Regions from separate parts of the Homo sapiens genome. Here all the other regions are linked to region 4. The links are contacts of gene promoters, found by promoter capture Hi-C in human tissues and cell types (Jung and others, 2019). All regions are on one chromosome and are shown on one strand. Each heading gives the region's core, a stretch centred on a gene start or on the middle of the fragment in contact. The rest is flanking DNA. Distances are from core to core; before and after follow the strand shown.

Evidence for each region. The method cuts DNA at HindIII sites, captures the fragments that hold promoters and counts their contacts. A contact is called where the count stands out against the background at its distance.
Region 1: a fragment that was not itself captured here is called in contact with the fragment with the promoter of ANKRD29 in region 4 in 2 of the 25 tissues and cell types used here (IMR-90 fibroblasts and lymphoblastoid cells).
Region 2: a contact is called between a fragment that was not itself captured here and the fragment with the promoter of ANKRD29 in region 4, in 2 of the 25 tissues and cell types used here (bladder and thymus).
Region 3: a fragment that was not itself captured here is called in contact with the fragment with the promoter of ANKRD29 in region 4 in 1 of the 25 tissues and cell types used here (dorsolateral prefrontal cortex).

Annotation. Positions count from the first base shown.
Region 1 is chr18:23,855,445-23,858,640 of GRCh38, forward strand. LAMA3 (laminin subunit alpha 3) reads left to right here. Exons shown (of 75, transcript NM_198129.4): 33 at 2,400-2,544. Among named protein-coding and RNA genes, the nearest start is that of LINC02958, 130 kb to the right of the region's middle. The HindIII fragment of the contact is 6,118 bases long and covers 1-3,196 here.
Region 2 is chr18:23,508,384-23,511,625 of GRCh38, forward strand. It overlaps RMC1 (regulator of MON1-CCZ1), which reads left to right. Exons shown (of 20, transcript NM_013326.5): 5 at 810-896. It also overlaps a transcript of NPC1 not described here. Among named protein-coding and RNA genes, the nearest start is that of RMC1, 6.5 kb to the left of the region's middle. The HindIII fragment of the contact is 4,548 bases long and covers 1-3,242 here.
Region 3 is chr18:23,886,323-23,889,463 of GRCh38, forward strand. All of the region lies in intron 41 of LAMA3 (laminin subunit alpha 3), which reads left to right. Among named protein-coding and RNA genes, the nearest start is that of LINC02958, 95 kb to the right of the region's middle. The HindIII fragment of the contact is 3,091 bases long and covers 231-3,141 here.
Region 4 is chr18:23,661,377-23,664,390 of GRCh38, forward strand. It overlaps ANKRD29 (ankyrin repeat domain 29), which reads right to left and starts at 1,535. Exons shown (of 10, transcript NM_173505.4): 1 at 1,334-1,535. The coding sequence starts at 1,354. The HindIII fragment of the contact is 14,259 bases long and covers 1-3,014 here.

The sequences.
Region 1 (3,196 bases), core at 632-3,131, 190 kb after region 4:
GAGTCCTTGTGCTCCACACTCGCTGTCTCTCCAGAAATAAGGAATCAGCTGAGAACAGGCTTTACATTTTTGCCAGACTGCCTGATTACATTTAGTCCGAGGGTCACAAGAAGAGAGCAGTTGTTATTAACCTGGGGCCAGGAGCCCTCTGATAAGAGAATGCAAAATTGTGTGTATATGAGAATGAGTCTTTCTGTGAGTTTAGTGGACACTTTTCTGAGAATATGGCCCATAGTTTACCCAGCTTTCCAAAAGCGTCTCCGATCCTCTCCCAGAGTTTACAATCCACTGCACTAGAGCCATCCACTTCAAGCAGAACATTTACACTCTATACCTACATTACTCTAAGTGTGGTTTTGAGGCTACTTCCTTATGGAATCATTTCTGCAGGTATCGAGTAGGGAGAGGTGAGAGGGATGGGGCTGAAAGATGCAACTTGCCAGGAGGTCTTGCAAGTAATGCTGAGTTGGTCCTTTTAGTTGTGCCGAGTGGACAGAAAGGCACCGTCTCCTCCCCTTAGCCCATGTCACAGCTAGAATAGTAATAGCAAATACTTACGTGTGTGCAAGCAACTCCTGTAAGGTTTTTACATGTAATATTTAATCCTCACGACAATCCTGTGAAGTAGATATTGTTACCTCCATTTTTACAGATGAAGAAACTTGGTTGTAAAGTGACCAATTTGCCCAAGGTCCAGTAAGTGGTAGAGTTGGGATTCAAAGCAGGTTACCTGGTTCCAAGTTTATGTTCTTAATCACATACAAAATCCTTTATAAGCAGATATTTGCCAAAGGGAAATAAGCAGATATTTGCCAAAGAGAAACTTAATGGGATATGAAGAGTCGTATTTAACTTTTTTAGGATGGTCACTGGGGTAAGATATTTTCACAGGTATTAGGAGATAGGTGATGGCCTACATTTGGTAGTAATTGAACAATAAAGTGTTATTGCCTATATGCCAATAAAAATGTATTTCTAATACTTCCCTTAGTCCCACAGAAGAGAATCAGTGTGTAGGTAGATCCCAGCTCTGAATGCAGTGCTTGGCTCCCCAGGGCTCGCGGCACTTTCTCTTCCCCTCTCCAACCTCGAGTTCTGGGTTCTCCAGGCACAGCCATAGCCCACTGCTTTTCTGCCTCTGCTCAGCTGTTTGTGTTTTCTTGTCTGCCCGGATCTTCAGTTAAAAGGACCTGCAGATGGTTGAGGGTGGATGACTCAGAGTGACCCTCCCACCCCCCACTGTGCTTTCCTCTGAGCTCTGGCCCTTGCAGGTAACAAGGGACATTAAGATCCACTCTGTCACCCAAGCAGGGAAATTGGGAGTCTTCCTTGTCTTCTCTTCTTTCCTCTACTCCTCATCCAGAATCTTACAGTTCCCAGAAACCTCACCCCAAAATAGTTTGGGAGCCCATCCCTCCTCCCCATCTGGATACCTTTGCCCTAGGTTAGCCCCCAGTCTCTCTCCTGACTTGACATCCTGCTGCTGCTGCTGCTGGAATTCACCCTCTGGGCTCCATCCTTCACACAAGTCCAACCACACCCTCTCCTCCTTAACAGCTGTTCATGTTGCCTTGTTTGTAACTTGCCAAGTGCCAGGCACTGGGATGAAATTTTGCATGCACTGCCTCATGGGTTCCCAGCAATCCCAGGAGGCAGCAGCTACCGTGTTCTGTCCCTCATAGGTATGAAAAGCAGGCTTTGGGAAGTTAAAGAACTTGCTAAGATGGTGTGTCTCATATGGTCAGAGCTGGATTAGAACTGCAGCCTTGCATGCACAGGTCTCAGCTACTGCGCTGTGCTGCCGTGTCCAGCCCCTCTGTCCTGATGATCTGACACCACCTACCTCCTCAGGCCATGGGGCAGCATTCCCTGCCTGGACATCTGCCCCAGCAGCACCATGCTTGTGTTGTTCCCTGTACACACTGAGTGATCTCCCGCTCTGTTCCTTCTGTCTGGAATGCGCATCCCAACTTCTACCCTATGACTCTGCCCTTTAAAGCTCAGGTCAGGAGTCATTTCCCCCAGGGAAACTTGTCACCTGCTACTCCTCTGAACCTCAGTTAGATTCTGTGTAGGTTGTCATCATTTCCACTTATGGGCCATCTGCGGGAGCCCTCCAGGCTCGGGGGCCATGTCCCTTCTTGCGCCCTCAACACCTAGTGCTAAGCCTGACCCATCTACGACGGTCATCCATGACCATCCACAATGGCCATTGGTCAATGACCTACATTCTGTAAGTGCCTTTTATCTGCCTCTCTCCATTCTGCCTTGGACTATAAGCAGGCATTGTATCTATTTAACTGGCTTTGCACACCAATTAGTCCACTATAGTGTAAGTGAGCACTTTAAAATTGTGTGTACAAAGATGATGATTTTTGCTTCCTTTACTTTGTGTACAGATGCAAGCCCAGAATCACAGGGCGGCAGTGTGACCGATGTGCTTCCGGGTTTTACCGCTTTCCTGAGTGTGTTCCCTGCAATTGCAACAGAGATGGGACTGAGCCAGGAGTGTGTGACCCAGGGACCGGGGCTTGCCTCTGCAAGGTAAGAGAGATCGTGCAATGCCAGACAACAGCTGCCGGTCAGCAGGAAAGTGCTTCATGTTGAGTCAACATAGAAAAGTATGTGGGAAATGGGACTGACCCGTAAGAGATGTTGATAGTGTATGTAGCATTTTATAGTCACGATCTCATTTTACAGAAATAGTTAGGAGGTGAGACCCCTTTTATCTTTTGGAGAGGTCTCAGACCGCCTTAGAATCTGATGACGGATATAGACCCTTTCCAGAAAAATCAGCACAAACTTTTATCTACAGTTTCATGAGGTTCATAGGTTCACCTAAAACCCATTCCTGGACCATGGACTCCAGGTGATCATCTCTGCTCCAAGGGGTTCCGCCAGGTTGTAGGAGACCTTCCAATTCCCAGGAGATGTTTTAAGGTGGTGGTGAGTGAGATGAATTGGTCTCCCCATCCTGTGAACCGTATGGTGCTATTTCTCTACTTGCAAGATGCCCCAGGGGCATCTTATGAAATTTAGAGAATTCTCTCCTCCATTTGTGTGTGGTATAAAAGTTTAAACAATTAACATGGGATGAAAGCTTAATAATTAACATCTCTTTTAATGTTTTGCTCACATCCTCATCCTAACATCTTGTGTTGGTATTTAATTTGTGCAAGTAGCTAATTGCAACTAG
Region 2 (3,242 bases), core at 75-2,574, 150 kb before region 4:
GGAGTGGAGGTTTCTGGTGAGGAGTTTCTTTTTCTGTTTCCTGAAGTTTCCTTTCCTCAATTTGTTGTCTTTGTCTTGTCCTTACTCTTTCTTTCTTCTCCTAGGTGTTGATTCTAATCCACATTAATGAGATTTGCTGGGTGTAGTAAACTAGGCTAGAGGGAGCTGAGCTAAAATTGGCAGTGTGGCACCTTGGGCGCTGACAGAAGCTGCTAGTGGTTGGGGTAGGGCTTTCTGCATTTTTGTGACTGTTTTGCTCAATGGAGTTCAGGGCGGACTCTTTGGTGAGGAGAGGTGCATCCCCACCACTGTCCTGCCTGCCCTGCAGTGGCCCCGTGTGAAGAGACCCTCAGCCCGGCCCTTCTCAAACCTGTCTGCCCTCAAGCGAGTCGGGTGTGTGTCTCAGGGTCCTCAACCCATTTTAGTCAACACTCACTAAAGACCCTTAGGCCTTTGTACATTTTTAATAACCATTTTTATAACGTGGGTGACTAAGAATGTTGGCAGTATGGTGATTCCTGCAGGTAGAAGCTGCTGTCTGTGAGCTCTGGTCAGTTACTTTTCTACAAAACACAGACTTCTCCTGTTCTGTTTAGTAGAAGGAATTAGGATTCAGGTTCTTGAATGAAGAGTTATGGGCAAAAATCAGGGAACATTGTATTTAAAAGAAAATTTGTTTTGTTAATTAGTAAACATTCCGGGGAACGTTCATTAAAGAATGACAAACTGCAGAGTTTGTGAAGCTTTTGAAGAGAGTTATATGTGTTTTTTCTTATTAATTAAAAATATTTTTAAAAAATTTTTCTTAGACTAAGAATGCCAACATTCTAGGATTCTGCTGGACTAGTTCAACTGAAATTGTCTTCATAACAGATCAAGGAATCGAATTTTACCAGGTATTATGTTTATCATTTATGTTTGTTGGTTAAAGTTCAGTGATAGCATTCTGGCAGCCTTTTGAATTCAGTACTGAATATATATATATATATTTTAAACATTTTCTAGAGATGGAGTCTTGCTCTGTTGCCCAGGCTGCAGTGCAGTGGCACCATCATGGCTCACTGTAATCTCAAACTCCTGGGCTCAAGCAATCCTCCTGCCTCAGTCTCCTGAGTAGGTGGGACTACAGGCATGTACCACCATGCCTGGCTAATTTTTCTTTTTATTATTTTATTTTATTTTATTTTATTTTTGAGACGGAGTTTCGCTCTTGTTGCCCAGGCTGGTGGAGTGCAATGGCGCGATCTCGGCTCACCGCAACCTCCGCCTCCCAGGTTCAAGCGATTCTCCTGTCTCAGCCTCGTGAGTAGATGGGATTACAGGCATGCATCACCATGCCCGGGTAATTTTGTATTTTTAGTAGAGACGGGATTTCTCCATGTTGAGACTGGTCTCGAACTCCCGACCTCAGGTGATCCACCCGCCTCGGCCTCCCAAAGTGCTGGGATTACAGGCGTGAGCCACTGCGCCCGGCCCTGGCTAATTTTTAAACTTTTTTGTAGAGACGAAGTCTTGCTATGTTGCCCAGGCTGGTGTCAAACTCCTAACCTCAACTCCTGCCTTGGCCACTCAGCTTTAGTCTCTTGCTGGGGATTTTATTCTTTTTTTTTTTTTTTATAATTGCAAGTAATAAATTAAAAAAAAAAAAAAGAAAAGAAAAAGGGCTTGGTGGCCCATGCCTGTAATTCCAGCTCTTTGGAAGGCCAAGGTGGGTGGATGGCTTGAGTCCAGGAGTCTGAGACCAGCCAGGCCAACATGATGAAATCCCATCTCTATAAAAAATACAAAATGTTAGTCAGGCATGGTGGTGTGCGCCTGTAGTCCCAGCTACTTGGGAGGCTGAAGTGGGAGGATTGCTTGAGCCTGGGAGGCAGGAGGTTGCAGTGAGCCAAGATCACAGCACTGCACTCCAGCCTGGATGACAGTGAGACCCCATCTCAAAAAAAAAAACAAAAACACAACAACATTAAAAAGTGGGCAAAGGCCAGGTACAGTGGCTCACACCTGTAATCCCAGCACTTTGGGAGACCGAGGTGGGCAGATCACCTGAGGTCAGGAGTTCGAGACCAGCATGGCCAACATGACGAAACCCTGTCTCTATTAAAAATACAAAAATTAGCCAGGTTGGTGGCAGGCACCTGTAATCCCAGCTACTAGGGAGGCTGAGGCCAGGGAATTGCTTGAACCTGGAAGGCGGAGCTTGTAGTGAGCTGAGATGGTGCCACTGCACTCCAGCCTGGGCAACAGAGCGAGACTCCGTCTCAAAAAAAAAAAAGTGGGCAAAGGACATGAGCAGACACTTTTTAAAAGAAGACACACATGCGACCAACAAACATAAAAGAGCTCAACATCACTGATCATTAGAGAAATGCAAATCAAAACCACAATGAGAAACTATCTCACACTAGTCAGCATAGCCATTATAAAAAAGTCAAAGAATAACAGATACTGGCAAGGTTGTGGAGAAAAGGGAACCCTTATGCACTATTGCTGGGAGTGTAAATTAGTTCAACCTTTGTGGAAAACAGTATGGCGATTCCTCAGAGAGCTAAAAGCAGAACTACTGTTTGACCTAGCAGCCCCATTACTGGGTGTAATATGCAGAGGAATATAAATTATTCTACCATAAAGGCACATGCACGTGAATGTTCATTGCAGCACTGTTCACAATGGCAAAGACATGGAATCATCCTAAATGCCCATCAGTGACAGATTGGATAAAGAAAATGTGGTACATATATACCATGGAATACTATGCAGCCATAAAAATGAACAAGATCATGTCTTTTGTGGGAACATGGATGGAGCTGGAGGCCATCATCCTTAGCAAACTAACACAGGAACAGAAAACCAAATACCACATGATCTCACTTCTAAGTGGGAGCTAAATGTAAGTTATGAATGCAAAGAAGGAAACAACAGACACGGGGGGCTACTTGAGCAGGGGAGGGTGGGAGGAGGGAGAGGAGCAGAAAAGATAACTATTGGGTACTGGACTTAATACCTGGGTGATGAAATAATCTGTACCACAAACCCCGTGACATGAGTTTACGTATGTAACAAACCTTCACATCTATCCCTGAACCTAAAAGTTAAAACAAAAAACATTCAAACATTGCAAGATATGTAATATGGAAAGCAAATGTTCCCTATAATCCCGATAAATAATTATTATGAACAGTTTGGTGCATATTCCTCTATTTTTAAAAATAAATACAAACTTCTTTTTAACAAAAAGGGGA
Region 3 (3,141 bases), core at 526-3,025, 230 kb after region 4:
AAGGATCAATATTTTAAATATTTGCTAATTAGGGCCAAGCATGGTGGCTCAAACTTGTAATCCCAGCACTTTGGGAGGCCAAGTTGGGAGGATTATTTCATGTGATCCAGAGGTTAGAGACCAACCTGGGCAGCATAGAGAGACCTCATCTCCATAATTTTTTTTTTTAATTAGCCAAGTGTGGTGGTGTGTGCCTGTGGTCCCAGCTACTTGGGATGCTGAGGTAGGAGAACCATATGAACCCAGGAGTTCGAGGCTGCAGTGAGCTATGATCGCACTACTGCATTCCAGCCTGGGCAACAGAAAAAAAAAAGCCAATTTGATAGAGAAAAATTGTGTATCATTTTAATTTACATTGTTTTGTTTAAACTTTAAAAGAGTTTGACTAATTTTTGTTTAACCGGAAAATGAATTCAACCAGATTTCAAGTAAGGCATAACCACCCTAGACTGGGGTTATCTGAAATGTTTATGGATAAGGTGGGACTTTGGTAGGTCCAAGGGGTTACTAGAACCCAGTGGAGCCAGAAGATGGAAGTGGGAGGCAGGTTAGGTTGGGGAAGCAAGGCAGAAAAGCCCAAGGGGCTGGAAGACACTTGCCATGTGTAGGAGGTGGGGACTGCCTTAGACTGGGGACACTGAGCAGCAGCTAAGGAGCCCAATTCTATGGCAAAAGATGGTAATGGAAGGTTCTTCTGTTTTCCATTTTCCATTTCAGCAAAAGGAGCATTTCTCACACTTGCCTTACACTTATTCAGTTATTCTTTCAATGAAAAATGTATGGAGGTCCTAGTATATATATGTCTGGCACAGTGCTAAGTACTGGAGGCACATTAACAAACAGCACAGACAGTGTCCTCAAGGGCTTTCCAGTCCAGTGGTGGACAGACATCAAAACATGCCATTAAAATAGCGAGAGATGGGAGAACTGGGCTAAGTTGAGCTGCAATTAGGAGGTATATCCAACCAGCGAGAAGGGAAGGATGTGGGGAGTGGGAAAGGATTCTAGGCTCTGAGGTTTAAAAGCCACAGGGGACCAACACCTGGGAGAGGCGTCCTAATTTCATCCTCTTTATGGCTCTTCACAAACAATGAAGCATTAAACAGCAACAGGCTCGGTGAGACATCCATTTGGCAGGCAAAATTTTTAATTAACAGTACTTCTCTCAGCTGATGTTTGTTATATCTGATGTCTCAAGAAAACAAGCTATTATTTCTTTAAAAAATTTTTTGAAGCTTTTTCATGGATAAATGCCATTTTATGTCAACATTTTTCATTTGTTAGACACAGCACCCAGACATCATTCCTGGCACTAGTGATTAACTACACAATGATAAACACAAGGACAGTCAAGGGTGAAAAGCAGGAATATAGATTATGCAGGAGACTAGCTGGATAGAAGCCAGAGTGGCCAGCTGTGGGGAGGGTTTCGCAAAGGCTTTCCAGCCCATGCATGCTCTTACCCCTCTTCTCCCTCAGACACACAGGGCCACACAAGACAAGCCTATTTTCTGCTCTTTATTTGTTGTACCAATGTCATTCGTGAAATCAGGAGGTTTTACTTCAGTCCTTTGGGTTTAGCCACTGCCATAAATTGAGAATAAGAGAACCAGTTATTTCTTATAACCAGTAAGTAATGCTTTGCAAGAGTAAGGAAGAAGTAGAATCGAACTTCCTGAATATTTCTGTGATTTAAATATAAGGTACTTTGTAATTATGCATCTATTACATGGGAAGTTTAGATGTAGGTAAGAAAGACATCAAAAATAAAGTATTCTAGAACACAGAGCTTCTGCATAACATGATCTGTTAGGTAGAATACCAAGCCAGTCACAAAGTAAAGCCCTATTATTAGTATATGACCACCCTGCTTAGTAGACTTAAATAGGCCACCTCAGCCTAGTTACCTTCTGGATTATTAGGGGATACATGGGCCTTCTGCTTTCTTGTAATAATTTCAAATGATGCCAATTAGAAGATGAATATTTTGTCATGTCTTATTACGATAGCTACCCTTCATTGTCTGTTATGTGCAGATATTACGCTAGATTCTTTATTACATTATCTCATATTCACTGAGCAAAATAGGTATTATTAGTCCACTCACTTATTCATTCAACAAATGAATGAATATGTGCCAGGTGACCGTAGGGATATATCAGTGAGCAAAACAGCCCAAAACTCCACATCTTCATGGAGCTTATATTTTCATGGGGGCTGTGGGGGGGACCGGTAAAGAAACTGAAGCACAGAGGGTTACAGCAACAGCCCAAGATCACACTAGTAAGTAGTAGAGATAGGAGTCCAGCCAGATCTTACTGATCCTTTACATTATATCAACAGTGTATCCATGGTAATACATTGGTGAAGTATATTGGAAGTACATGGTAACGTGTATTGGAATTGCCTAATTTTTTTTGATGCAGTGCTTAAATTTGGGGAAATGAGGTAAATACCATATTCCCTTGAGTCTATCAAGTCAATTGATGATAAGACACCACACATCAGTTTAATGACAATTTGGGGGTGACTGGATGGGGAGTGGAACTTTATTAATGGAAATATTGTAATTGACATCCCAACTCCAGGAGCATGAATATGTGCTTATTTGACTTTAAAAAAAAAAAAAAATCAAAGAATCAAGGAAATGTGATCTTTAAACTTGTAAACCAGTAATGAGTTCTCATTACTATACTATCTAGAATAAAAAAGGCTCAGGGCCAAAGGTAGCAGCTGTAACTGCTCTCAGTTGTTTAAGAGTCATTATATACAGCACGGCAGCAATTAGTGCAAATATGAATTATGCAGACTTGACATAGTGCAGGCCAGGTGCAGTGGTTCATGCCTGTAATCCCAGCACTTTAGATACTGAGGCAGGAGGATCACTTGAGCCCAGGAGTTCAAGACCAGCCTGGGCAACATAGCAAGACCTTATCTCTGCTAAATATTAAAAAATTAACCAGGCCTGGTGGCATGCACCTGTAGTTCCAGTTTTTTGGGAGGCTGAGGCAGAAGGATTGCTTGAGCCCAGAAGTTCAAGACCAGTCTGGGCAATATAGCAAGACCTCATCTCTACTAAAAATTAAAAAATTAGCCAGAAATGGTGGCATGCACCTGTGGTCTGAGTTTCTTGGGAGGCTG
Region 4 (3,014 bases), core at 285-2,784:
CTCTTGCCTTCCCTACTGAATTATGCCGATTTAAAACTTTTAAAGTCGGCCGGGCGTAGTGGCTCACGCCTTTAACCCCAGCACTTTGGGAGGCCAAGGAGGGTGGATCACCTGAGGTCAGGAGTTCGAGACCAGCCTCGCCAACATGGCAGAACCCCGTCTCTACTAAAAATACGAAAAAATTAGCTGGGCATGGTGGCGCACGCCTGTAATCCCAGCTACTCTGGAGGGTAAGGAAGGAGAAATAGCTTGAACCCGGGAGGCGGAAGTTGCAGTGAGCTGAGATCACACCATTGCACTCCAGCCTGGGCAACAAGAGCAAAACTCCGTCTCAGGAAAAAAAACTTTAAAGTCATTCACATTCGTCTGCTTCGTTCCATTCTCACCACCTATGCACTGGTCCAGTACCATTTCTTAAAAAGATGACAACATCTTCCAGCTCCAACCCTCTTCTCCAAACCTAGCCAGAGATCTTTGCAACATGCACATCTCGCCATGTCACTCCTCTGCTTACATGAGCTATTGTCGGCAACGGGATTACAGTGGCTTAGGAGTCAGACACACTTGGGTTTCAGTCTTAACACCATAACTTATTGGCTGCAAAACCGTGGGTGAGTTAATTTCTCTATATCTTAGTTTTCTCATTTGAAAAAAAAAAAAAAAAGAGCCACGAAGAGCACCTCCCACAGGTCTCCCCCAGGGTTGAGACCATACACACCATGTCCTTGGTTCAGAGTCAGGCACATTTGAACTGTTTAATACATTTTAACTGCTATTTTTATTAAACCCTTTCAATCGAGGCAAATCAACCTCTTTCATCCTAAAATGTGGGGATTAGATGGAATGACTTTAATCAACTCTTTTGAGACAAGACACCTTTGGACCCTGAAGCCTCCCTGGGTGCTGGCCACCCCTCCGGGGAGGAGGCATCCGTGGGTGCAGCTGGTACTCCTGCATGAGGACCCAGAGGGTCAGGGTCGGGGACTCCTTCTGCTGCAGGACAGCGCTGACCCCAGGCTTCTTACCCGCCCCCGACCTGTTACCCGGCGACAGTCCCCGCCGCCCCGTCGCCGGGCACAGACTCAGCCGATCCACAGCCATGAGTGCGAAGCCTCTCAGGCAGGGCAGGCAGGCAAACCGCAAACCCACAGGGCGCACCCAGCCCCGCCGCTTCCTCCCGGGCCTCGCCCGCAGCTGGAGGAGAGAGGAAGGAGGAGGCGGCGGGCAGCGGGCAGCGCCCACCCCATCCCACCCCATCCCACCCCACCCGACCCCGCGGGCCCGGCCGCCCGAGCCCGGCCCCAGCCCTGACCCCGGAGTCCCGGTCGCTCACCTTGAAGGACATCCTGCACATGTCCGCGGCCGCCCGAGCGGGAGCCGGCGCGCTTTGGGCCCGGGGCGCCTTGTCCTCCCCGGCCCTTCACTCTCCCGGGGCTCTCGGCGTTCCGCAGAGGGGCGGCCTCCGACGCCGCGCGCTCCCGCCGCCCGGCCCGGCAGCAGCCGCCGCACACAGGGCCGGGCCGAAGGGGCGGCGCGGGGGCGCGCGCGCGCGCACACTACACATGGGGTGTCGCGTGGACGCGCTCCAGGACCTGCCACACACGCGCGTGCACAAACACCCCAAACTCCGCACGCACTGTGCACTTTCCACACACGTCCACACTTCCACACTCACTCGTCCACACACACACTCCAAACTCCACACACATTGTGCATACGCTCCACATTCCACACACACAGAGGTTCCACACACATACTTTCCACACTCACGCCCACTCACCCGCATGTACTCACACACAAACTCCATACATATCCTCCCAAATAGACTGGTCTGCCCCAGAGGACTCCCAACCTTCATTACAGCACAAATATTATAATGATGTAAAAATGAAGCTTGAGGAAAAAATTCATCCAATAGCTATTTTCGTTATAATTTCTTTCTCGGTTTCCTGGGAAACTTTTTTCTCCTGGGGAAAATATCTAGGAAACAAACCTTTTGATTGCACAAACAATAAGTGGTCTTTTCCTCTTTGAAGGGCAAAGGCCAATTTTGGAATAGACTCATACCCCTCCTCCTCCTCCGCGTTATTAATCCAGCAGTTCCCTCCTCCTCTGGGTCTGATGCTGCAGCCCTGGAGTATTGCAGTATGTGTGTCCACTCCTGCTGCCTGCCCAGGATTGGTTTGGGCGAAGTAAAACTGGGAGTTTTAAGTATAAACGGCAACAACAGCTCTTTGAGAGCATTTTAGAAAAGTGAAAGTAAAAAAGTAGCCCAGGCATAGTGGCTCACGCCTATAATCCCAACTCTTTGGGAGGCCAAAGGCGGGCAGATCACTTGAGTCCAGGAGTTCGAGATCAGACTGGCCAACATGGCAAAACTCTATCTCTACTAAAAATACAAAAATTAGCCAGGCGTGGTGGTGCGCACCTGTAGTCCCAGCTACTCGGGAGGCTGAGGTGGGAGGATCGCTTGAACCTGGGAGGTTGAGGCTGCAGTGAGCCAAGATTCGGTCACTGCACTCCAGCCTGGGCAACAGAGCAAGACTCTGCCTCAAAAATAAAAATAAAAACAAAACAAAAAAATAGTATAAAAATGGAGGTCTTACCCCCTCAAACTATAAGAATCCACTCATTCATTCTCCCCCTCCTTCCCTCTTCTCAATTAAATTTGTAACGAATATTTAATTTAAAAGGTAGAAAACAATTACAAATAAAAGTTAATGATAAAAATTAAAATGTTTAACCTTCATGGATAAATTGTATTACTTTGTGCTTAAAACAACTTTAAATTAAAAACATTCTGAACTTTTATAGAAAATTCCAATTTTAAAAATAAGGACTCTAAACATTTTCCTTGCCTTGAGTGCCTATAAATGACACAGTTTTTAAGTTGCCACACAACGTTATTATATAAAAATCAAGCATCAGAGGTTTTGCTTTAATAGTTTTTTGTTTGTTTGTTTGTTTTTTCTTCTCAGATGGAGTTTCGCTCTTTTGCCCAGGCTGAAGTGAAG